Linked DNA regions of Homo sapiens: regions 2, 3, 4 and 5 are each linked to region 1. Evidence: promoter capture Hi-C in 16 types of primary human blood cells and fetal thymus (Javierre and others, 2016). All regions are on one chromosome and are shown on one strand. Each heading gives the region's core, a stretch centred on a gene start or on the middle of the fragment in contact. The rest is flanking DNA. Distances are from core to core; before and after follow the strand shown.

What was found. Contacts are between HindIII fragments. The CHiCAGO score rates a contact against its expected background, and 5 or more counts as called.
Region 2: a contact is called between a fragment that was not itself captured here and the fragment with the promoter of TMEM245 in region 1, in 1 of 17 cell types (activated CD4 T cells). The highest score is 5.4, in activated CD4 T cells.
Region 3: a contact is called between a fragment that was not itself captured here and the fragment with the promoter of TMEM245 in region 1, in 2 of 17 cell types (naive CD8 T cells and non-activated CD4 T cells). The highest score is 8.0, in naive CD8 T cells.
Region 4: a contact is called between a fragment that was not itself captured here and the fragment with the promoter of TMEM245 in region 1, in 2 of 17 cell types (fetal thymus and activated CD4 T cells). The highest score is 8.8, in fetal thymus.
Region 5: a fragment that was not itself captured here is called in contact with the fragment with the promoter of TMEM245 in region 1 in 1 of 17 cell types (non-activated CD4 T cells); the score reaches 5.6 in non-activated CD4 T cells.

The regions. Positions count from the first base shown.
Region 1 is chr9:109,117,148-109,121,261 of GRCh38, forward strand. TMEM245 (transmembrane protein 245) reads right to left here and starts at 2,800. Exons shown (of 18, transcript NM_032012.4): 1 at 2,188-2,800. The coding sequence starts at 2,766. RefSeq lists silencers at 2,130-2,239, 2,590-2,759, 2,900-2,949 and an enhancer at 2,430-2,479. The HindIII fragment of the contact is 5,277 bases long and covers 1,658-4,114 here.
Region 2 is chr9:114,355,336-114,359,958 of GRCh38, forward strand. AKNA (AT-hook transcription factor) reads right to left here. Exons shown (of 22, transcript NM_001317950.2): 10 at 4,561-4,623; 11 at 4,259-4,459; 12 at 2,586-2,832; 13 at 1,528-1,634; 14 at 590-801. Among named protein-coding and RNA genes, the nearest start is that of ORM2, 28 kb to the left of the region's middle. The HindIII fragment of the contact is 7,176 bases long and covers 1-4,623 here.
Region 3 is chr9:114,587,982-114,592,141 of GRCh38, forward strand. All of the region lies in intron 1 of ATP6V1G1 (ATPase H+ transporting V1 subunit G1), which reads left to right. Among named protein-coding and RNA genes, the nearest start is that of ATP6V1G1, 2.3 kb to the left of the region's middle. RefSeq lists an enhancer at 1-223. The HindIII fragment of the contact is 2,179 bases long and covers 1,581-3,759 here.
Region 4 is chr9:104,090,396-104,094,756 of GRCh38, forward strand. It overlaps SMC2-DT (SMC2 divergent transcript), which reads right to left and starts at 2,079. Exons shown (of 3, transcript NR_121580.1): 1 at 1,694-2,079. SMC2 (structural maintenance of chromosomes 2) reads left to right here and starts at 3,914. Exons shown (of 25, transcript NM_006444.3): 1 at 3,914-4,082. RefSeq lists enhancers at 3,197-3,866, 3,329-3,648, 3,867-4,361. The HindIII fragment of the contact is 1,933 bases long and covers 1,548-3,480 here.
Region 5 is chr9:114,931,303-114,935,594 of GRCh38, forward strand. No RefSeq gene overlaps it. Among named protein-coding and RNA genes, the nearest start is that of TNFSF8, 2.9 kb to the left of the region's middle. The HindIII fragment of the contact is 1,054 bases long and covers 798-1,851 here.

The DNA.
Region 1 (4,114 bases), core at 1,550-4,049:
CACCCAGAATGGAGTGCAGTGGTGCAATCTTGGCTCACTCCAACCTCTGCCTCCCGGGTTCAAGTGATTCTTCTGCCTCAGCCTCCCAAATAGTTGGGATTACAGGTGCCCACCACCACACCCAGCTAATTTTTTTTTTTTTGTATTTTTGGTAGAGACGGGGTTTCACCATGTTGGCCAGGCTGGTCTTGAACTCCTAACCTCAGGTGATCCACCCGCCTCGACCTCCCAAAGTGCTGGGATTACAGGCGTGAGCCACCGCGCCCGGCCAATTTCAAGCTTTTAAAAAATCATTAATTAGTTTGACCTTCTTTCTCCCACTCCCAGGTCTAATCAGTGTTGGCCCCTACTTCTCTTCCACTCATCCACAACCCACAAATGAAATACAAAGATGAGGGTTTATCTTCAGTAAAAAGATACTCAAAGGTATACGCCGAGCTGTGGATGTTTCTTTACAAGTGCTCAACTCTTTCCACTGAGTATCTGAGAGAGACTGGTAGAAATGCCTCATAATCATGCCAAATTACTTAGGTATTCAACTTCTTACTCTAGCATGAAAATATACTATTTACATGTGGCAGGCCTTTCTTTTCTACTTTCCTATAGTTTGATGGATATGCTCCTTGAGCAGTATCAACAGTCAAAAATGTTAGCAGAATCTATAAATGTGTCTTTGACAAAACTGAATTTCTTCAGGAAAATAACCAAGCTTATTTTTCTTAGAACATAGTGTTCTGCCTTCTAGCTAAGAAGCATTCGATCCACTTAACTGAATTGTGAAACTGCAAGATAAAGGATAAAGAGCGCTGAACTGGGCCTCCATAAAAGTGAACCACAGATTTGCTCATGAGCTGTGTGACTTTGGACCAATCACATTCTCTGGGCCTGTGGCCCACAACGGATGAGTCATGAACATTTATCTGTATGTCTGTCATCTCCATTAGAATATGTTCATATAGGATTATATGTACCGTGAAGACGGGACCTGTATCTTAGTCCTTTTTTAAACCTCTCACAAAGCCCAACACCTAACATATGCTCGATCAACTTTAAACATGAACCAAGAGGTGGTATTGAGGGAACAAGAGAAGAAGGGTGTTTTGGGTCATTCATCACTCTGCCAATAACCTCAGGCAAGCCAAAACACCGCTAGACAGATAAGGGGAATTAATATTTTCCAACTTAATGACGTCAAGGTACACTGAACTTTATTTCACTGACAAAAGAAGTGAATCAATTTGTAAATGGTACTGTTTATGAATCAATTGGCATTCTTACGCACTAAATCTCCACTTGTTTTTAACAGTCTCCAGTTAAATATGTGGATAATTAACTAGTCCACAATATAGTCTGAGTTAGGAATTGTGTCACTAGATTACCTTTGAAATCTTTCCAATTCTAAAGCTCCCTGGTTTTGTAAGAGTAAGCTCAGGTTAATCCAAGCATCACAAATCTACGTCTCTCCCCTTCACGCGGTCAGCTGCTTTACTCCAGGCGGGAGGAGGTGTGCTGTGGTACACCAGTCCCTGCACAACAAAAGCAGTTACCTAAAAGTAAAGCGTGGAGAGGAAGAAGCACAGGCAGCTCAGCACCCAGTGCCTTGCACAAATTATACAGGAATCACCTGAACTGAGAGGCAGCACCAGCCAGTGAAGCAAGCTTTGTTTTAGGACTTGTAAGAAATCTAAGACACCCAAACCCCTCTTTGTCCCTAAGTAGCCCTAGCCTGGTAAGAGGTCACCTTTCCTATCTGCAGGATGGCAAGTTGGCCTAGAATCTCTAAGGTCCCTTCCAGCTCTGACATTCAGATGCGCAGAACTGAGGGTGGCCGAAGCACCCCCGCCCTCTCCAACCAGAAGTAAAACCAAGCCCCACTGCCATGCTCTGAGGCCTCTCTCTGCAAAGCGAAATAACGATTCTCAATCCAGGGCACTGTCCCCCTAAGAGGGCCTATTAGGATTGAAACAAGGCGAAAAGCAGGGAGGCTGTTTCAAATCACGCCCGCCCCCTTTTTGGAAGAATGTCCGCCAAATTCCTGAGGTGTGAGAAGGAAAGCGGAGACGGACGGTCACTGCAGCACAGGTGTGGCCCCTCGTCGCCCCTGCACCGGGAGGAACAGCTGCAGGATTGCACCCCAGAGCGCCGGGACCACGGGCGGGGGACGGGGGCGGACTGCCGCTCACTCACCCACAGGCTGCTGAAGTAGTCCAGCCCGCGGCAGATGAGCGTGGCAGCGTGCACCAGCAGCACCTGCACGCCCAAGTAGCTGCCGAGGCAGTAGAGGCCGTACAGGAGCGGGCCGCCGGCGCCGAGCAGCAGGAGCAGGCGGCGGCGGCGCAGCGCCTGCTCGCCCAGGGCCTCGACGCCGTAGTCGACGAAGCAGAGCGGCAGGAGCAGCGCGGCCAGGACGATGGGCGTGTGCGCGCGGTGCAGGCGCTGCAGCCAGTGGCGGCCCAGGCGCGTCAGCGAGCTCTTGAAGGGGTGCAGAAAAGTGCCGCATAGCACGGCCCAGAGCAGCGGCCGCAGGAAGGCCTCCAGGATGAAGTAGACCAGCACCGCGGCGCCGCAGCACAGGCACACGAACAGCACGGCCCCGGTGTTGTAGAAGGCCTGCTTAATGGGCTTGTCGAAGCGCAGCGCCAGCGCCGCGGTCCGCGGGGTCTCCCCGCCACCGCCACTCGGCCCGACCGCGCGCGGGACCCGCGGCGCCGGCCCGGGAGAGCTCCGCAGGCTTGGCGCGTCCTTAGGGCCGCCGCCGTCGGCCATCGTTCCTCCGCCACAGCCGCCCCCGAGGGGCGGTAATGGGAGTCGGGCTAGAAACGCGGGCGGGAGGCAGGGCGGGAGGCGCGCGAGATTGTGGGAGTTGTAGTTCCCCGCTGGTTTACAGACCCACCAAGCGCTTGCAGGAAACTACAACTCCCGAAGGGGAAATGGGGAAAACGCCTCCGCCTCCTTGGTGTCCGCAAGGTCCTGCTAACAAGTTTGCAGGGTCTATATCTTCCTGGAGGGGGGGGGGGGGGGAAGCTCCTTTCACTCATTCGTTAATGTCAATTTCTCGCGAGGCGAGATCCCAAAAGGCGCCACATTCAGATATTAAAACCCAAGCTGCATACTAGAATACCGTGGGGGAGTACTTTTAAAGAACCAATGCCCCGATTCTGTTTTACTGATTTATTTAACAGATATTTTTAAAGTGTTTTCTTTGGTGTATCTGACAGGATTTTAAATAGAGATTACCATATAACAGGCCCTATTCTAAGTGGCTCACTCCTATTAACTCATTTAATCCTTAGAACAACCCTACAAAGAAGGTGTTATTATCCTCATTTTACCAACAGAAAAACTGAGACAGAGCCGTTAAGTACGCAGCCAGAGTCACACAGCTACCAAGTGGCACAGGCAAGATTCAAACTCAGGGATTCTGGCTCCAAAGGCTATACTTTTATCTACCATAGTATTTGGCCTGAGGAAAGAACTCTTGGCATTTTTCAAACGTTCCTCATAAGCCTGTAATTTGCAGCCGCTGTTGACAACTGTTTGTGCAGGTTTCGCTGTGGACGCAATCTAAACTCTTAAAAGAGTCGTAGATCAAAGTCTCAAACTGCCACTGTTTCTTTTTGAGACTTGATGTAATGTCAGTTAAGCCCCCAATCTCAAGTTTTCCTCTGTCACATGGCGATGATAATAATAATAGCTTTTGCTTTAGGGTTATTGTGTGGGGGAAGGGAAACTCTGGGGCGGTACAAGGTGCTTCTGTTCCCCTATTGGAAAAGTGCTGGGATCCAAGCCTGCTACCCATAAAATATCCCAATCAACATTTTGATTTAAAAAAAAAAAGAAAGCCTTGACTGAGTACTCAACATGTGATTGCTTCAAACCTTGCAAGTTGTCCCTTTCCTGTTTCAATAGTATTCCTATTAATTTCTACATAATTTTTGTTTCCCTTCTAAAGCAGACAAGACAGGTAACATAATCCACAGTTTGCAGATAAAGAAACTATTGCTTGATAGATTTGGAGACAAAGGGATTTAGTAAAGGAAGTAAAGGAAAAAGTAATTCCCTATCCATCTCGATTGTAAGTTTTAGGTCTCAGTATTTCAGATGGCCTTTGGAG
Region 2 (4,623 bases), core at 1,173-3,672, 5.2 Mb after region 1:
TGGCTAATTTTTTGTATTTTTAGTAGAGACGGGGTTTCACCACGTTGGCCAGGCTCGTCTCGAACTCCTGACCTCAGGTGATCCACCCGCCTCGGCCTCCCAAAGTGCTGGGATTACAGGCACGAGCCGCTGCACCCGGCTGGGACTGTACTTTCATGTGACCGGCAGCGCAGTAGGTTTGTTTCCACCAGCATCACCACAAACATGTGAGTGAAGTGTTGCTCTGCAATGACTGCAACATCGCAACCAAAGGAATTTTCAGCTCCATGAAAATCTTATGGGACCACCGCCGTGCACGCTGTCTGTCGTTGAACAAAACGTTGCTATGCAGTGCATGACAGTATGTGTAAACAAACACACATTTATATCGGCACAGAGAACAGCTCACAGGTTCTACACCAAAACGTCAGCACTGATGGTTTCCAGAGTATTTTTTTTTCTTTTGTTCCCTTTTGTCCACGTTATCTGTAATTTCAAATTTCAGTACAATGAACCTGGCTAATATGTCATATCCTAAAGGGTTCTGCAAGTTTTTCTATTTGATTTTTCAACCCATGCAGTTCTGTCCAAGTCAGACTCCTGCACTCACCCATCTCGGCTGCCAGTGTCCGCTCCAGGCTGAAGTTGGGTGCCCTCTGCCGGAGAGGCCCACTTGGGCTGGAGAGGTACCTCTGTGCTTGGCTCCGGGGTGTGCTGGGCTCTGTGGCTCTTCTGGGAATCAGAGAACCCCTGGCCTTGGGGTAGGAAGCTCCATCCCTGGGCACAGATGCAGCAAAGGGCTGGGCTAATGTTCCTGCTGTGCTGGGGGACCGTGGAGGAAGGGACACACAGGGGTCACACAGAGTGAGACACTCAGGCGGCAGCATCTGAGCCCCTCCACATGCTAACCCAATAAGCTCCCACCCTTTGTAACTTTGCATCTCGGGTGGTACAATATTTCCAAGGACACACACACATTAGATGCCCAATTCTTTGTAAACTGTTCACTGGCCAACCCAATATGCAAAATAATAAAGCTCAGTTTATGTGTAGAATACATAAAAGAGAAATAGGATTTCTAATCCTTCCTTTGCATGCACCCTTGGGTTGCCATGTGGGCCTCCTGAAGGGCCTGCACCCAGCTTTGGAGGCTCCATCCCTCCACTCTTCACCCCTGTCCCCTCCGCCTTCTCCCTTCCCTTTGGGTTCCATGTAGCCACCCTGAGTGCCCTTTGCCCTTGTCTTCTGTTCACCTCACAGTGCCCTCCCTGTAGTTTTTATTCATTCATCCATTCATTTGCTCAACAAAAATGAATTTCCCAGTCTGTCGCTAATTAGCTATGTGAGGCTGGACTAGTTACTCCCCTCTCTGAAGCTCTGTTTCCTCTGTCCATAACACAGGAACAAGAAATCACGGTTAGGGGATGAAATGAGGGCCTACGAATGGACAGACCATCCTCTCTTATTCTGGGCCATCACAGGCACTGTGATTCCCAGGCTGTCCCAGGAATGTGGCACTGACGGGACAATGGCGGGATCCCGGGATACCTGATGTGGGAGAGCCGGTGCTCTGGAGTCTGGGTGAGGGGTGAAACTCTGCTTGTTTCTGAGCCCACAAAGCCACTGTCTGTCTCTGGGGACGCCATCCAGGTCTCCTGAAAGAGGCAGTATCCCTTTATGTCTGAGGAATGTGTCCAAGGCACACTGGGAAGCCCTTCCCAAATCGTGGCCTGGCCTCACCTCCCAGAGGCTCACACCCCAGGGTTGCTGGCCCAGCTCCCAACAGCCAGGCCCAGGAGTGAGGGCTCTCAGGCTCTCAGGCCTCAGCACAAGAATCTGGCTACCAGCAGGGACTCTGCACCCCAGGAGGACCCTCAGCAAGTGCTGCCTCCCTGAGGGGTGGCAGCCAGAGCCCTTGGGAGAGACAAGGCCATGGACAAGGACTAGCAAGGGGAGAGGGAGAAAGCCTTATTTCCAGTGTCTCCTGGCTTAGGCCTGGAATACTATGGTCTTATCTGACAGTGGAAATGCTCAGGCCCAAGGCATTGGAAAAACGAGACCATCAAATATGTACAGGTCCTACCCGCTGGGTTTAACACACGGCACAGAGAACACAAACAGAGCAACACAGGTGCCTGCCCTCGCTGAGTTCATGTCTAGTGCAGAGAATCCTGACCATGGGCTCGTTAGGACTACAGAAGTGTGTGTGTGTGTGTGTGTGTTTGTGCATAAGTGCACATGCATGCATATATATGCATTATTCTATGACAGTCACATTTCCATAGTGGCCTGTGACTTTGCAGCAGTGATGTCTACTCTAAAGAGCATAGAACTAGTCTCTCCAGCTGTGATGGGCAGGCTCAGAGAAGTATAAGCAATGGGTTGCAAGCTCTCAGAGGAGGAACAAGAGCTCCGGAAGAGGGACAGGTTTGGGGGGTGACACTGAGCATAAGTCCTGCATGTCAGGTGGGATTGTGGCTGGCAGGGACAGGAGCAGCAAGTATTCCAAGAAGGAATAGCACAAGGAAAGACCCAGAAGCAGAAAGTTGAGAAGACCCAGGAATGACCCTGAGGTTCTGGGCCCATTCCCCCATGTGGAGACTTACCTCCAGGTGGGGCCCACCGCCTCGGTGCAAAGGCTTCTGTGGAAGGCGCTCAGAGATGCCGCTTCCCTCCAGGCTGGTCATACTACTTTGGTGGGATGCTGCGGACTTGGTGCCTGGAGGGTGGGGTGGCACGCCAGGGCCTGGAGGGGCTGCCTCAGCCTTGCCCAGGCCTGACATGTGCCCGTCTCTAGCCAGGGATGCCTGGAAACCTGGTGGCTTCATAGATACCATCTTCTCCGTGGCCTCCCTGGCATGGGAAGAGAAGACCATCCTTGAGTTCTGCCAGGCAGCCCTGACGCAGGGGTTGGCCTGTCCTGGGAGCCAAGCAGCCCAGGGCACAAGCTCTGGAGTCAGACATCCCTGGCTGCCCAGCCTGGTTCTGCCACCTTCTAGCTGTGTGACCTAGGGCAAGGCACTTCCCCTCTCTCAACCTCACTTTTCTCAACTATAAAATATGGATGCCAACAAAACCCACCCAACACCAAAGAGGAAATGTTAAAGCAGCATTTCCCAGACTTAAGGAGTTTGCATACCACCTTCCCTATTTCAGTCATTTCCATAAACTTCCATCTACTCCAAAGATTTTAGATCACTATTCAAAACAGAAGATCAGTGTGTCATGTGACAAACAGAAACTAACTTTGAGGATAAATATAAGAAACCTGAATATTATCATATACTAGATAGATCCACTTGCCTGCTAAATGCTCTAGGCCTTGTGTGCTCTCATACTGTCTCTCTCTCTCTTTTTCCACAGAAGTTCAAGAGAGGCATTAAAGACACCACAGCTCTCAGTAAACTATCACAAGGACAAAAAACCAAACACCGCATGTTCTTACTCATAGGTGGCAATTGAACAATGAAAACAAATGGACACAGGAAGGGGAACATCACACACCGGGGGCTGTTGTGGGGTGGGGGGAGGGATAGCATTAGGAGATATACCTAATGTTAAATGACGAGTTAATGGGTGCAGCACACCAACATGGCACATGTATACATATGTAACAAACCTGCACGTTGTGCACGTGTACCCTAAAACTTAAAGTACAAAAAAAGAAAAATAAAAAAGACACCACAGCACTAACTGAGACTTTCTCCTTGGCATCATTAGAAGGTCAGAGACAGAAAAAGAGAATGATATTCTTTTTTCTTTTTTTTTTTTTGAGACAGGGTCTCACACTATCACCCAGGCTGGAGTGCAGTGGCCCGATCTCAGCTCACTGCAACCTCCGCCTCCTGGGCTCAAGAGATTCACCTGCTTCAGCCTCCCAAATAGCTAGGGCTATAGGCGTGTACCACCATGCCTGGCTAATTTTTGTATTTCTTGTTGAGATGGGGCTTTGCCGTTTTGCTCAGGCTAGTCTTGAACTCCTGGACTCAAGTGATCCACCTGCCTTGGCCTCCCTCAATGCTGGGATTACAGGCATGAGCCACTGTGCCCAGCTGAGAATAATGTTCTTTAATACTGCATGTGTCCTACTGAAAATCATGTCCCACACTACCCAAAATCATTTCAAGGGCTATCAGTGGTATACATTCCACACTTGAAGAGGCAGGACAGGTAAGCCATGTCTAAACTGTGAAGCGCTGTCTTATTCACTCTGACAGTGATCATCCCTGTGGTTTTAGGGTGGAAACAAACATTCTGCAGGAAAGGCTCAGTGACTTACTCCAGGGGAGCCCCATGACTTTTCTCAGCCTGCACCGGGCACTGCCTTGGGAGGACCCTGGTGGCCTCTGCTTTCCCTGGAGTTGCAGCCACCCCATCAACTTCCAGGGAGTCACCTCCCCCCTCTTCCTCCTCCTCCTCCTCTCCTTCTTCCTCCTCCTCCATTCTCATGGCTTCTGGGAGAGACTTCACACTGAGGTACCTGCAGAAGAACACACAGAGGGGCATGACCTCTGCCCAGTGGGGGACAGCCAAGATCCAGCTGCTGGCCAGACACCCTGGTCAGGTCCAGGTGGCACTCACCGCTCCATGAGGCCATGGTAAACTTGCTCCATCTGCAGCTCCTTGTGCCTGAGTCGGGCCAGG
Region 3 (4,160 bases), core at 1,420-3,919, 5.5 Mb after region 1:
GGTGGTGGGTAGATTAGGCCCGAAAAACTGCGGGGTGCGGGCGTGCGTATAGTCGCGGAAGGTTGTGTGTTTCGAAGCTTTGAGGAGCTGAGGCTCTGGAAGGCTTGCGGATCGCCTGGAAGCCACGATGTGAGATGGTAAATTGGGCGTGGAAACAATAATGGGTTACCGTCCTTGGGGCCTGGAGGCATGTGAAATGGGCTCTCCAAACGGAGCTCTTTGTTCTTCTTCTCTCCCACTTAACCGCTCTGGGGTGGTCAGTCTCGGTGAAGGGAGCCAGCATCCACACAGTTGCTTGGTCTAGAAACCTGGAGTCCTGCTTGCCTCTTCTCCCTCCCTCATTTAGTCAGTCGCCAAGGCTTGCGTATCTTTCACTTTTTCCCCCATGTCTACTACCAGCGTCTTAGTCCAGGACACCAGTTTCTCTAAAGGTACTGTAGTTGTCTAAATCGTTGGCGTGTGTGCGTGTGTGTGTTTCTGATATGTGGCAAGCGCAGTGTGTGTGTGTTTCTAACATGTGGCAAGCGCAGTGTGTGTGTGTGTGTGTGTGTGTGTGTGTTTCTGTCTAATATGTGGCAAGCGCAGTGCCCAGTGCATCAGTTGTCTCCCCTAACGTGGCATTCAGTGTCGCAGTGAAGGAAGCAGGTATTGGGTCAGTTAATTAATTGCAGGAGAGATGAGGGCTGGAGTGGAGAAATGTAAGGTTGCTAAAGAATTTAACAGGTGAGTTTAATCTAGACTGGGGAGTGGAAGAACCCGTTCTGGTCCCCTCCAGTCAATCCATTCTCCTCTCTGCAATCAGTCATCCTTCTAAAATGCAAATATGTGACTTCCTGCTGGTAAGGAACAAAATAAATAAATAAGTGCAGATATGATTTCCCTACCGCCTTTGTAGTCAGACGTTTAGTTCCTGCAGAAGAAAGCTCAAATTCCTTAATGAAGTTGGGGAGGCTCTTGTGGGTCAGGCCTGGTGCTTTCCTCCAGCTATACTGAATCGTTGTGGTCCCTCAGAAGCAGCATGATGTCTTTCACCTGCAGGTTTTTGCACACGCTGTTTCTTCTGACGTGAGAAGCCTTTTCCAATTCTCCTCCCCTTTGTTCTCTGACCCTTAGTCTTCCATCAGACCTCAATTTAGGAAACACTTCTTCCCGGGAAGCCTTTCCTGACTCATGCTTGTCCCCCGGACTAGGCTTGGAGTCCCTCCCAAGTGCTGATTTCTGCCACTGCCGTGCAATAACCTGTTTGTTTATATGGCTCAGTCACTAGACTAAGCTTCTGGAGAACAGAAACTATGTCTCATTTAACTTTATGTATCCAGTTTCCCGTCTGGTGAGAAAGATGCTTCTATCCCTATTTTACAGATAGTAAAAATGAGGCTCAGAGAGAAATGATTTATCCATACCCTGGGAAGCAACATAGTTGGGACTCAGAAGCCTCTTTTTCCATGCAAGGCGAAGATACTGATCTTAGTAATTCCTTGGTGTTTCTCCTAGTATAGGAGTTATTCTATCTGACATCCAACTAGATTTCAAGCATGTCTCCTCTACTTGTGCAGTTAGGGGTTGTGTGGTACTTGGAAAGCTTTCTTTGAGGGTGTTGGGAATGAGAAGAAGCCTTTTGTTCTTGCTCCGGTGACTGGAAAGTTCTTTGTTCTTCCCAGAATATTTCCAGTCATGCCCTTGATAGTGTATTTCCAGAATGACTTCTCACAGTTTGTGTTCTGATGGCTCATCAGTAACAGAAGTTGTATCTGTCGGGAGGGATAGGAGAATAGATTGGGGAAGTGCAGGAAAAAATGCTTGGAATAGGTAAGAATAATTCTGAGTGCCCTAGCCAGGTAGGATTTATGTTTTATACCTTTATCCTGTCAAGCCTGGTGCAGGGTTTTGTATATGTCAGGTAGCTGTGAATTGGTTTTAAAAAGTATTAATTTGGCTGGGCGTGGTGGCTCACGCCTGTAATCCCAGCACTTTGGGAGGCTGAGGTGGGTGGATCACCTGAGATCAAGAGTTTGAGACCAGCCTGGGCAATATGGAGAAACTCCGTGTCTACTAAAAATACAAAAGTTAGCTGGGCGTGGTGGTGTGCGCGTGTAGTCCCAGCTACTTGGGAGGCTGAGACAGGAGAAACGCTTGAACCCAGGAGGCAGAGGTTGCAGTGAGCGGAGATCTGTCCCACAGCACTCCAGCCTTGGGGACAGAGGGAGACGCCGTCTCAAAAAAAAAAAAAAACAAAAAACAAACCAAAGTATTAGTTTATGGCTTACATACTTCTCAGATTTTTTTTTTTTTTTTTGAGACAGAGTCTCACTCTGTCACTCAGGCTAGAGTGCAGTGGCACCATCTTGGCTCACTGCATCCTCCACCTCCAGAGTTCGAGATTTTGTGCCTCAGGCTCCCAAGTAGCTGGGATTACAGGTGCCTACCACCATGCCCATCTCTACTAAAAATACAAAAACATATAAATTAATACATAAATAAAAAAATAAATTTTTGTATTTTTAGTAGAGACAGTGTTTTACTATGTCGGCCGGGTTCTTCTCAAACTCTCGGCCTCCCAAAGTGCTGGGATTACAGATATGAGCGACTGCGCCTTGCCTGTCTCAGAATTGTTAATAGTTAGGAACAGAGAGGTAGTCAGAAGAACTGCAGTTTGAAAATTTGCCTTTCTTGATTTATAATTATGGTTGATTTGCCCAGTTAAGAGTTGGGAAGAGGCAGTATATAAAATGATCCCATCCAGTTTTTTTAATGAAATCATTGAGTTGGACCTTAAATTTTTTTTATTATTTTTTATTTTATTTTATATATTTTGTTTATTTATTTTTTTGAGATGGATTCTCGCTCTGTCGCCCCCAGGCAGGAGGGCAGTGGCGTGATCTCGGCTCACTACAATCTCTGCCTCCCAGGTTCAAGCGATTCTTCTGCCTCAGCCGCCCGAGTAGCTGGGACTACAGGTGCCTGCCACCATGCCCGGCTAGTTTTTGTGTTTTTAGTAGAGACAGGGTTTCACCATAGTGGCCAGGTTGGTCTCGAACTCCTGACCTTGTGATCTGCTCACCTTGGCCTCTCAAAGTGCTGGGATTACAGGCGTGAGCCAGCGCGCCCGGCGTGGACCTTAAAATTTTAAAAAAGTTTGTGTTAATGGCATATTTCATTGGAGTGAAACAAAACACTGGCTCCCATATGTAAGGCCCAAGAAGAACAAGATTTAAGAGAAATACGATTTTCTGTTTAAATATTTTTGATTTTTAGAGGCCCCTGTCAAAATTGAATGTTGAAGATGTTTGCCAAAGGCAGTAAATGGTATTATCCTGAGTTATAAATGCAGGGAGCCATGGGAGTTGGGAGGTGATGTCTTGTGAAATCATGCGGAGCTACTGCATAATGTTCAGGCCATGAGTGTTATTTATAGATTGTTGGTTTCGAAAGTATCTTTAGCTTTGAAATACAGCCCATTATAGCTGATGGGAAGATAGCATGTGAAGGATTGGGGTACAGGTGGCCGAAGCAGACAGTAGTAGGCCAGAAATAATACTGGAGTGAATGTGGACTTGCAGAAATAGTTCTTGGAGTTTTGAGAGAGAGACCTGTTAATTGTTTCAGACTAGCATCAGGGAATGTTGATGTCATGGGGTCATTTCATTACAGGTCCAAAGTTCTGTTCTGAATCAGGATGTGGAAGGTTAAGTTCATTTTCACTCATTCGCGTGGACTCTAGACAGTTGGTATACAATGATGTACAGTGTTGTATAACAAAGCTTAATTTTAGATGCAGGATGTCTTTTGCTCTCAAATAAATAGGTTGATGGTCTAGAACCTCTCTTTTTTTTTTTTTATTGGTGAGCGGAGACTCAAAGCAGAGATTATATGTTGGCTGTCCTTGTGGTCTGTTTTCATGTAGACTCTGACCAAACCTAGAGATTTTTTCCAGCTGTATGTTAAGCCACTCACTTCTAGAAACCAAAATACCTGTGTCTCCTCTTCTCTCAGCCACTTGTGCAGTCTTACTGTCCAGTACTCCTCATTCAGCATTCCTTCTCAGTCACCACTGTCCTTACTTCCTTGTGACAGGGACTGCTTTTAGTTTCCAGTGTTACATTATATAGTTGGTTCATTAGTTACATTATATGTTGCTGTCCCTTGCGAGCTTATTAGCC
Region 4 (4,361 bases), core at 1,264-3,763, 5.0 Mb before region 1:
GCCCTTATGTAAAACCTGGAGCCTTAGGAATAGCCAGCTACCGGAACTGGAAAAAGGCAATCTACTAGTTTGGGGAAGCGATAAAGAAGTTTGTTCTTTGGGGCTTTGGATAGGGTGGGAAAAAAAAAACATAAGGTACCTATGAGAAATCAAAACTGCAGCCCTGCAACAGATCTAAATATACAATATTTGCATAATTCAGGAGCCACAAACTGAGAAATTATCATTTGAAAATGCTTCAGATCTTTAAGAGCTACGGTATGCTGGCAGAAGCAAATGCATAATTGTCTAAAGGGACTCTTTTGCAACTAAGGGTGTAAGAGAGTCCCATAAACAAAACCATCCCACTGAAGAAGAGCACCACATGAGGAAATAAATCACTGAGTAAGAGTCAGTGGAGGTCGTAAACAAGAGTTAGGAACTGAAAAGCTAAAAATAACAGAACTAACAGAAAAGAAGATAAAATAAAGACATATAACTTGATTAAAAGGACAAAATAATAGAAATCATAATGAAAGAAGAGGCAGAATTCACAAAGAACCAAACAGAACATGTATTTTAGAAAACAATATTGTCACTGACATTAAAATGAATGGGTCTAACCAGTCCCACTGGGTGAATGAATATAATAACCTCCTTTTCTATTCCTCATTTTAAATTATACTTAGCTGTGTTTCTTTGCAAGTTTGTCAAACAGGTTATATTCGGTGAACCCACAGTTCAAATAATATGGCGTTAGAAATAAAATACAGTCATGCGTTGCCTAACGACGAGATACGTTCTGAGAAACGCCTCATTAGGCAATTTCATTGTTGTGCAAACATCATGAAGTATACTTAACACAAACCTACATATTATAGCCTTATGATTCTAGACTACAAACTTTTATAGCATATTACTGTACTGAATAATGTAGGTAACTATAACACAATGTTGTGTTTGTGTTTCTAAACAGAAAGGGTAGTATGTTGCACTACGATGTTACAACATCACTAAGCAACAGGAATTATCCATTATAATCTTAAGGGACCACAGTCACATAATGTAATCAGACATTGAAATATTATGTGGTGCACGAGTGTATTCAAAAAGTGCTGCCAGGCCACTGCCCTCCAGCCTGAGACAGAGTGAGACTCCTTCTCTGAAAAAATAAAAGTGCTGCTAGTCAATCCAATGTAAAAATATAAACTTCCTGTCATTATCAATTCATTTCCTTGAACCTAAAAATAATCTCTCAACAAAATGAGTCTTCCTTACTTCTGCGGTAAAGTCCTTTCTTTTTTTCTTGTCCTTTGTTCCAAGGAGAAAGGATTCACTCGGGTCCCTGTGAGAAGAGCTTCTTTAGCACTCTAAAATTAGAAAAGTATACCCAGGAGAGAGCAGGTTCCTTCCAGTTCCCTAGGAGAGTAGAGCACCAAATATTTCTCCTAGGTCTTGCTTTGTGGCTGTATGTGTGTCCTTGCTGGTACTGATGATGCCTTCCATATAAGGACTCAGACTCCACTAGCTGCCAGATTTCTGCTTGAAACACTGCCCGCTAGCGTTGAAGCTTTCAAACGATTTTAATCCATGGTGATGAAGCAAGAACAGTGTTTTCTGTACACTGCATCTACCCTATACTCTCTGTTTCTACCCCTCACATCTCCAAATTAGGGGGCTTCACTGGCTTTGTGCCTTGGTTTTTTCCACTCACCTGTGTGATCTCAGGAGGCAGAGTTTCAAGTTAGTCATCAGTGATTTCCTCAAGTCCATTTGTCTTATATTTAGCAGCAATTCCTTAGTGCTTCTGGCACGCAATAAGACTAAAACTGAGAGATCTCCACCTTTATAAGCATTTTTCATTTTAATCAATGGTCTTAATGGGAGTAGTTAGATCTGCACATTCTTCTAACCACCCAGGAGTCCTTATCCAACAACAGTGCACTTGTGTATGTTTTCATCCATGTGACGTAAGTGTATCAGCTAGTTGTTAAAGTGCAAAGACTAACAGTCTGTCTTAACACATATTTCCATACCAAAAAATCACTTTATTTCACAACGTGACAAAGTCCACATTAGGATTTGTTGGCAAATTAAAATTCTTTACTCACAAAATGATAAAAGGAAGGAGACACAGCTCAAAGTTAATGTGTAAGAGTTAACAGAATCAATACAAGTGAATAGCTGTGGAGCCCAGGGGATGCAGGAATCAAGGCAGACAAAGATATCTGTTGAATTAAATTAATGTTAGGTCACTACCCATGGTTGACATCACAGAAGTGGATAAGCATACCAGAGTAAACAAAGGAATCCTTTCTTAAACAAAAAACCCATACAACTTATTTTACTCCCTTATCGAGAAATATTTTCAAAATATAAGCCCATTCCTGGTAGGTTAAGACCAATTCAGATGACTGCATTGCCATTCCAGGGCCAAGAAAGCAACTTTAAAAACATGACCTACGCTATGGTCTAAATGTGTCCCTCAAAATGCACATTTTGAAATCCTAACTCCCGAACTGACGGTTTTAGCAAGTGGCATCTTGGGAAGTGAGGAATGGGATTAAGGTCCTTATAAAATAGGCCCAAGCGAGGGCCTCTGCCTCTCCACCATGCGAGGACAGAGCCAGAAGGTGCTATCCACTAAAGAGAAAGCACCCCTCCCTAGACACACCTTATTCTGTGACATTCCAGCCTTCAGAAATGTGAAGAATAAACTTCTGTGGTTCATAAACTACCCAGTCTAGGATATTTTGTTATGGAAGCCCAAAAGGATCAAGCCATTCCAAAATAGCATTGTTGCCCACACCATCTTTTTGAACCTCACTTAGGGTAACACCATACCCATTCGGAGTTAAGCCCTTCCTAACTCTTAAGTATCAACGTGCTTGGAAACGTGAGCAATCCTGACACGTTTTTTCTTCCTAAAGAACAATACATACTAATAATAGGATCGGCTAATAATACTAGATTCTATGCATGAAGCCTAGTATTTAAAAGCATGCAATCTGGAGCTAGACCGCCTGGGAACAAATCCCAGCTTACTAGACAAGCTGTTTAACCTTTTACTTGGTCTCATTTAACTCATTTGTAAAACGAGGGCAATTTCTGATTTCATAGGGTTGCTACGTGGATTTTAAAAAGCCCCTTGCAATATAGCCTAATATTCAGAACTCAATAACATGAACTGTCTTAAAAGGTTTCCAGAAAAAATCCCCAACAGGTTAGGTCGGCTTATCATTACAACGCTTTCCGGTATAAGGGAGATGAATAGCTATTTAGCACCACACAATTTCTCCTCTGGGCTCGGAACAGCTCTCGGTAGACTACGATCCCTTTCCGACGTGGAAACTTCAGATAAAAACGCTCCCCGAGGTCCGAGGCCAGTACGGGGCGGAGCCAGGACGCGGGCCAGAGTCCCCCGAAGGACGGTGCCTCTCTGGCCCCAAGAAGTACAGCTTTTATTTTGCAGCAATCTGAGCCAACCCGAGAAGATTCTGAAGCTTCCAAAACAGAACCGACGAGAACACTCATAGAATGCCTCTCCACTTCCTAACTGTCGCTTTGAGGAGAGAAAAGTAAGCCACAGCCAGCACCGCAGACTGGAGAAGGCGGAGTCTGCAGTGTGCCTAACGCGAACTAGAGGGACCGAGGCGGGGCGGGGCTGGCGAAGCGCGAGGACCCGGGGCCGAGGTGTGGGGCTGACCATAGAGTGCCGGACGCCGGTGTGAACATACACTATCTGCTCCTGTAGTGCCCAGGCCCCTGCCGGGGAGTCCCCGGAGCTACCATTATCGAGACTCTCATTCTATTGCCCTGCGGCTTTAATCCTTCGAGTGTAGGGGAAAAATTGAACCCTAAAGACAGGCAGCTCCTAGGCACCAGCACAGGAAATAAGCAATGGAGGTGGGGTCCTTTGCTCGCGCCGAAATTCAAAGGAATAAATAGTTCCGGCGCGGGTGTTGAGAGCGGTGTGGCAGGTGTTGTAGCCGCTATGGTGAAGTTCGCTTTGTAGCGGCCCCGGCTAGAGAGTTGTTCTGTTCCCTGCCTTTGTGACCCGGAGGAGCTTTTGGGGTGCGTCAAGCCCCTGGCCTGAGGCAGCGGTGAGGCGTGTGCGTGAGCACGGCCGGTTGGGCCGGGCCAGACTTCCTGGCGGGAGGCGGGAGGCGGGAGGCGGGGCGCGGGGCGCGGGGGCTGTAGGGAGGGGGACCAGTGGCAGAGGGACCTTAGGTGATCCTTAGAAATAAAGGCTAGCTTCTGTTCGACCTTGGAGTAGGGCGAAGAGGTGTAGACAGGCCTGGAGAAGCGAGGTAAAAGCCTGAGTAAAAGCAAGAAGTTGGAGAATATGAGATACATCTCATCTCTAGTAAATACTTAAATGA
Region 5 (4,292 bases), core at 75-2,574, 5.8 Mb after region 1:
TTGTGTGTGGTGTGTTGTGTCTTGTGTATGTATGTGTTGTGTGTGTATGTGACTACTATAATTGAACCTCTACTGTCTCAGGCACAGCGCTAGGAGTTACATGTGGCTTCATTCCACTTCCACCTCCACCCTCCGAGGCAGGCAATGTTTATTTTTTACAGATGGGAAAACTGAGGCTCAGGGAGGATGAAAACTATCTCAACCTAAGTCGCAAGTGTCGATCACTGAAAGAACTTGGGTGCACTTTGCAGCCTGCCTGGCTGAAAGCTCGTGCTAAGTCATTCAATCTTCACTGCACCTGAAAGCTAAAACCTGAAGTGTGGTCTCAGCCCTTTCCCTTCTTAGCCTTGGGCCATCATACAAGTCTTTATGGCTTTCTCTGTTCCCAATCTGCATTACAGTCATCAGGAAGACCAAGCGAGATGATGTCAGAGTACTCCATGAATAAAAATAGATTTGGGGATGGTGTTGGACAATTCCTGTTAAACATCCCAAGCTGTCTACTGGGCTAAGTCTGGAATTTAGATACAATAGACAGATTACCTGGGGGACAGAGTCAGATCACATCTGTGGTTACTAATGATCTCCATTTCAAAATACCGTTTAAAATGTTAATCACTGCATAGCTGCTGCCTCCAGATGTGGGCCTTTGAAAGCTCCATTTGGTATCACCGTGGAAGAAGCTCATTCTGCATAGCACCTCCTTTCCTTTCTGCTCACTTTTTGTCTGCAGCGCATCACTTTGAGCCAGCAGAGATCCCAGATGCCCCTAAGGAAACGTCCTGTGTCTAAAGCCAAGCTTGGATTATTACCACTGCTGTTCTTGCATAGAACCAAAACTTCTGAGCATCTCCCAAATTAGATCAGGCTTTAGGATTTGGTCTGGATATTTCCTCCCAGTGAGTCTGTAAAAGCATAGATCCTGGAGACGAAAGAGACATCAAGAGATAAATTGTTTTCTTGGGCTAAATAGAGTGGGGGGCGATATACCCATTTTACAATCAAGGAAACCGAGGCCCCCGTGATCCCAATTGAGTTTGGTTTTGAAAACAGTGTGTTCACGTTCGTTTGGTCCGGTAATTAAGGTGGGAACGAGGCAAGCCAGTGTTTTCTGGGGCATGTACCTGGCTGATTTGGGGAGAAGGCTGTGTCCTCTGGTGGGCACGGACAGTGAGTGGGTAGCAAGGGCTCTGTGGTCTGCCCAGAGTTGCTGAGAACCAGCTGCTCCCTTGGCCCTCTTGTTCAGCCTCTTTGATCAAAGTGGAAAACTTCTGATTGTTGAATGGAAGCTGTGGGTGTTGAAAAATAAAAAGGCTTTGCTTGAAGTTCGGGTCTTCCTGAAGGCCTGTGGGGCTGAGAAGGGCAGTGGAAAAAAATGTTTGTCTTACAGTTACCCGTTTTGCATACAATACAATGTCCTGGGAGGGAAGGCTGACAAGGGGGAAAAATCACCCTTTGTTTTTACTCAACTTTCTGAGCAGTTGAGATTTTCGGATCAGTTCCTAGTACAGTAGTTTGTGGGCTCAATTCATTCTTTTGCTGTGACACTCCTCTACTCACAAACCTTCAGTGGCTCCCTATTTCCCACCCCCATTGCTCTAAGCCCCTCTCTGCTTTCCAGCTGTTCTAGAATCTAGCCTGGCCAACATAGAAATCCATGACCTGTGCTAACTGGCTTCTTTCTGTCTTCTACTCAAGCTGTACGATGTGCAGATGGAAGGAGCCTTTATAGAATTTCTTGTTGAGTAAGTTTTAAATCCTTTCTGGAAGCAAAGCTGTATAAGGAATATAAAAACATAAGAAAACAGGGCTGCTTTGGCTGAAGCACAGGTGGGACAAAGAGAAGGGCTAAGCTTCACCTGCTCATTTGCCCTTTTCTGGCATGGGGTCTCTCCAAGGTGAATAAAATTTAGAAACTTCAGAAAATTTGGCTTGAATCCTTCATTCCACAAAAGGAGGAAACTGGGACACAGAAATGGGAACAACTAAAGGAAGTACATACCATCAGGGAGAGAGACAGGTGTAAGAGTCCCTTCTGCTCATTCTCTCTCCTTTTTTTTTTTTTTTTTTTTTTTTGACTGAGTCTCGCCCTGTCACCCAGGTTGGAGTGTAATGGCGCAATCTCGGCTCACTGCAACCTCTGCCTCCTAGGTTCAAGTGATTCTCCTGCCTCAGCCTCCTGAGTTGCTGGGATTACAGGCACACACCCCTAGGCCTGGCTATTTTTTTTTTTTTTTAATCTTTTGTAGAGATAGGGTTTCACCATGTTGGCCAGGCTGGTCTTGAACTCCTGACCTCGTAATCTGCCTGTCTCGGCCTCCCAAAGTGCTGGGATTACAGGCATGAGCTACCGCACCCAACCCCCTCTGCTTGCCCGGCCCTCTCTGCTCATTCTCATGTCGGCTCTGCTAATATTCCAGGTGCATCCAGGCTTCCTCTCGTGTTTTACTTGGCTTTCCACTGCTCCTGTTCTTCCTCTCCCTTCCAGCCTTTGCCAACCCGCCTCACCATCTCCAGGAATGCTTGCCCAGATCTCTCAAGTCCACCAACACCCTCTCTGGAATGCCTCTATTTTCATGCCACATAACCTAATTGTCTAATTATCTACTTCTCTTGATGTGGAACCCAAGTGTGTAAACACATGTAAATGTTGCCTTGCTCATAAGATGAGAGTCCCTGAGGGCGGTCTGCACTTTCCTAGTCTTCTAAGTCCTTGCATCCCACCTTGCGTTTCTTGCTGCTGGTCATATATGCAGGGTTGACCTTCAATCTATGCTTCATGTTTATGGAAAGAGAAAGTTCTAGAAGAGTGGCTTATGTAAAGGAATTGTGTGGTGGCATTCTTGCCTCTCTCTTCTCAACTGTACTCCGTGTCTCTATCTTTCTCCAGAGAATGGCCTCATGAGAGTGACCACCCAGCCTCCTTTCAGCCTGGAATTGGCTGCTGAGATGTGGCTGCAGTGCCTGAGACTCAGTGGGCAAATAGAACTAACGTCTCATCCCTTCAAGAAGGAAAGCCATTTTGAAAAGTAAAGGGAAGCCAGCAGTAGCCATTCCTCCAACATTGCTTTCCTGTATAAGGGACTGGGAGATCTCTGTTGTAGAGACTAGAGGCCTTCAGGTGTAAGCCCACACCAGCAGTGGCAGCAGTAGCACCTGGGAACTTGGTGCCACTTTAAGACCCTCTAGACCTACTCTAATTCAGAAACTCAGGCTGGGGTCTGGTAGTCTGTTTTAACAAAGCACCCCAGGGAATGCAGATGCCTGAGACCATTTGAAAAACACTGATTTAGGGAAACAATCTCCAAGAGATCATCTGGTCCAAAATTTAGCCTTTGGACAGGTAAACTACCACCTCCATTGTGTAGGTAGGGAAACTGAGGCATAATAAAAGTTATTGTCTGGGGCCATGTAGCTGGGTCATGTTGGTTTACAGACTAGTTTTTCTGCTCCCTTTATTGAGCCCTCTTTCTAACCTTGACTACGGCTGCAGGCTCTAGAAATACCTTCAGAACCTTTCTGGAATGCAGATATATTTGGAATAGAATGGAGACATTTTACTCCATTTAAAAATCATTAGATTGGTGCAAAAGTGATTGCGGTTTTTGCCATTAAAAGTAACTTAATAATTTTATCCATTTAAGATTATCTTTTGATGATCACTGTACATGGTAGGAATATATATTTTTAAACTATGGGTATATGTGAGACAAGGACAGACTCACCCAGGGTATATTCAAGCAATAACACATGTAACTAAATGGCCTTTTGAGGAGGGAGGGTCCTGTCCCTTTAACTTTAGAGCTCTTTGTCTTGCTGGGGCTAACTTGAAGAGATTGGATGTTGGAGTCGAGCCACAGTGACACTTCATTGAGAGGGCCCAGTGAGGACAGGGGCAGTGGGAGGAAGATTTGGAACAGGGCTAGCAAACTGAACCATAGGCCAAATCTGGCAGGCACCTATTTTTGTAATTGAAGTTGTATTGAAATGTAATTATATCCCTTTGTGTATACATCTATGGCTTCAATTCCACTACAACAGCAAATCTGAGTGGTTTCAACAGAGACCTCACAGCTGCCGAAGTCTAAAATATTTGCTATTTAGACCTTTACAGAGAAAGCTTGCTGACCCTTGGTTTAGAGTATTAAAATAGACTCAAGGCAGGGTAACCGAAAGAGATCTGGGAAAAAGAACAGAAATGCATTTCCTAATACACTTCCATGCAGAGAAAAAGGAACTCAATTCCCTATTGGTAGGAATGTAAACCAGTACAGCCACCATGAAAAATCATA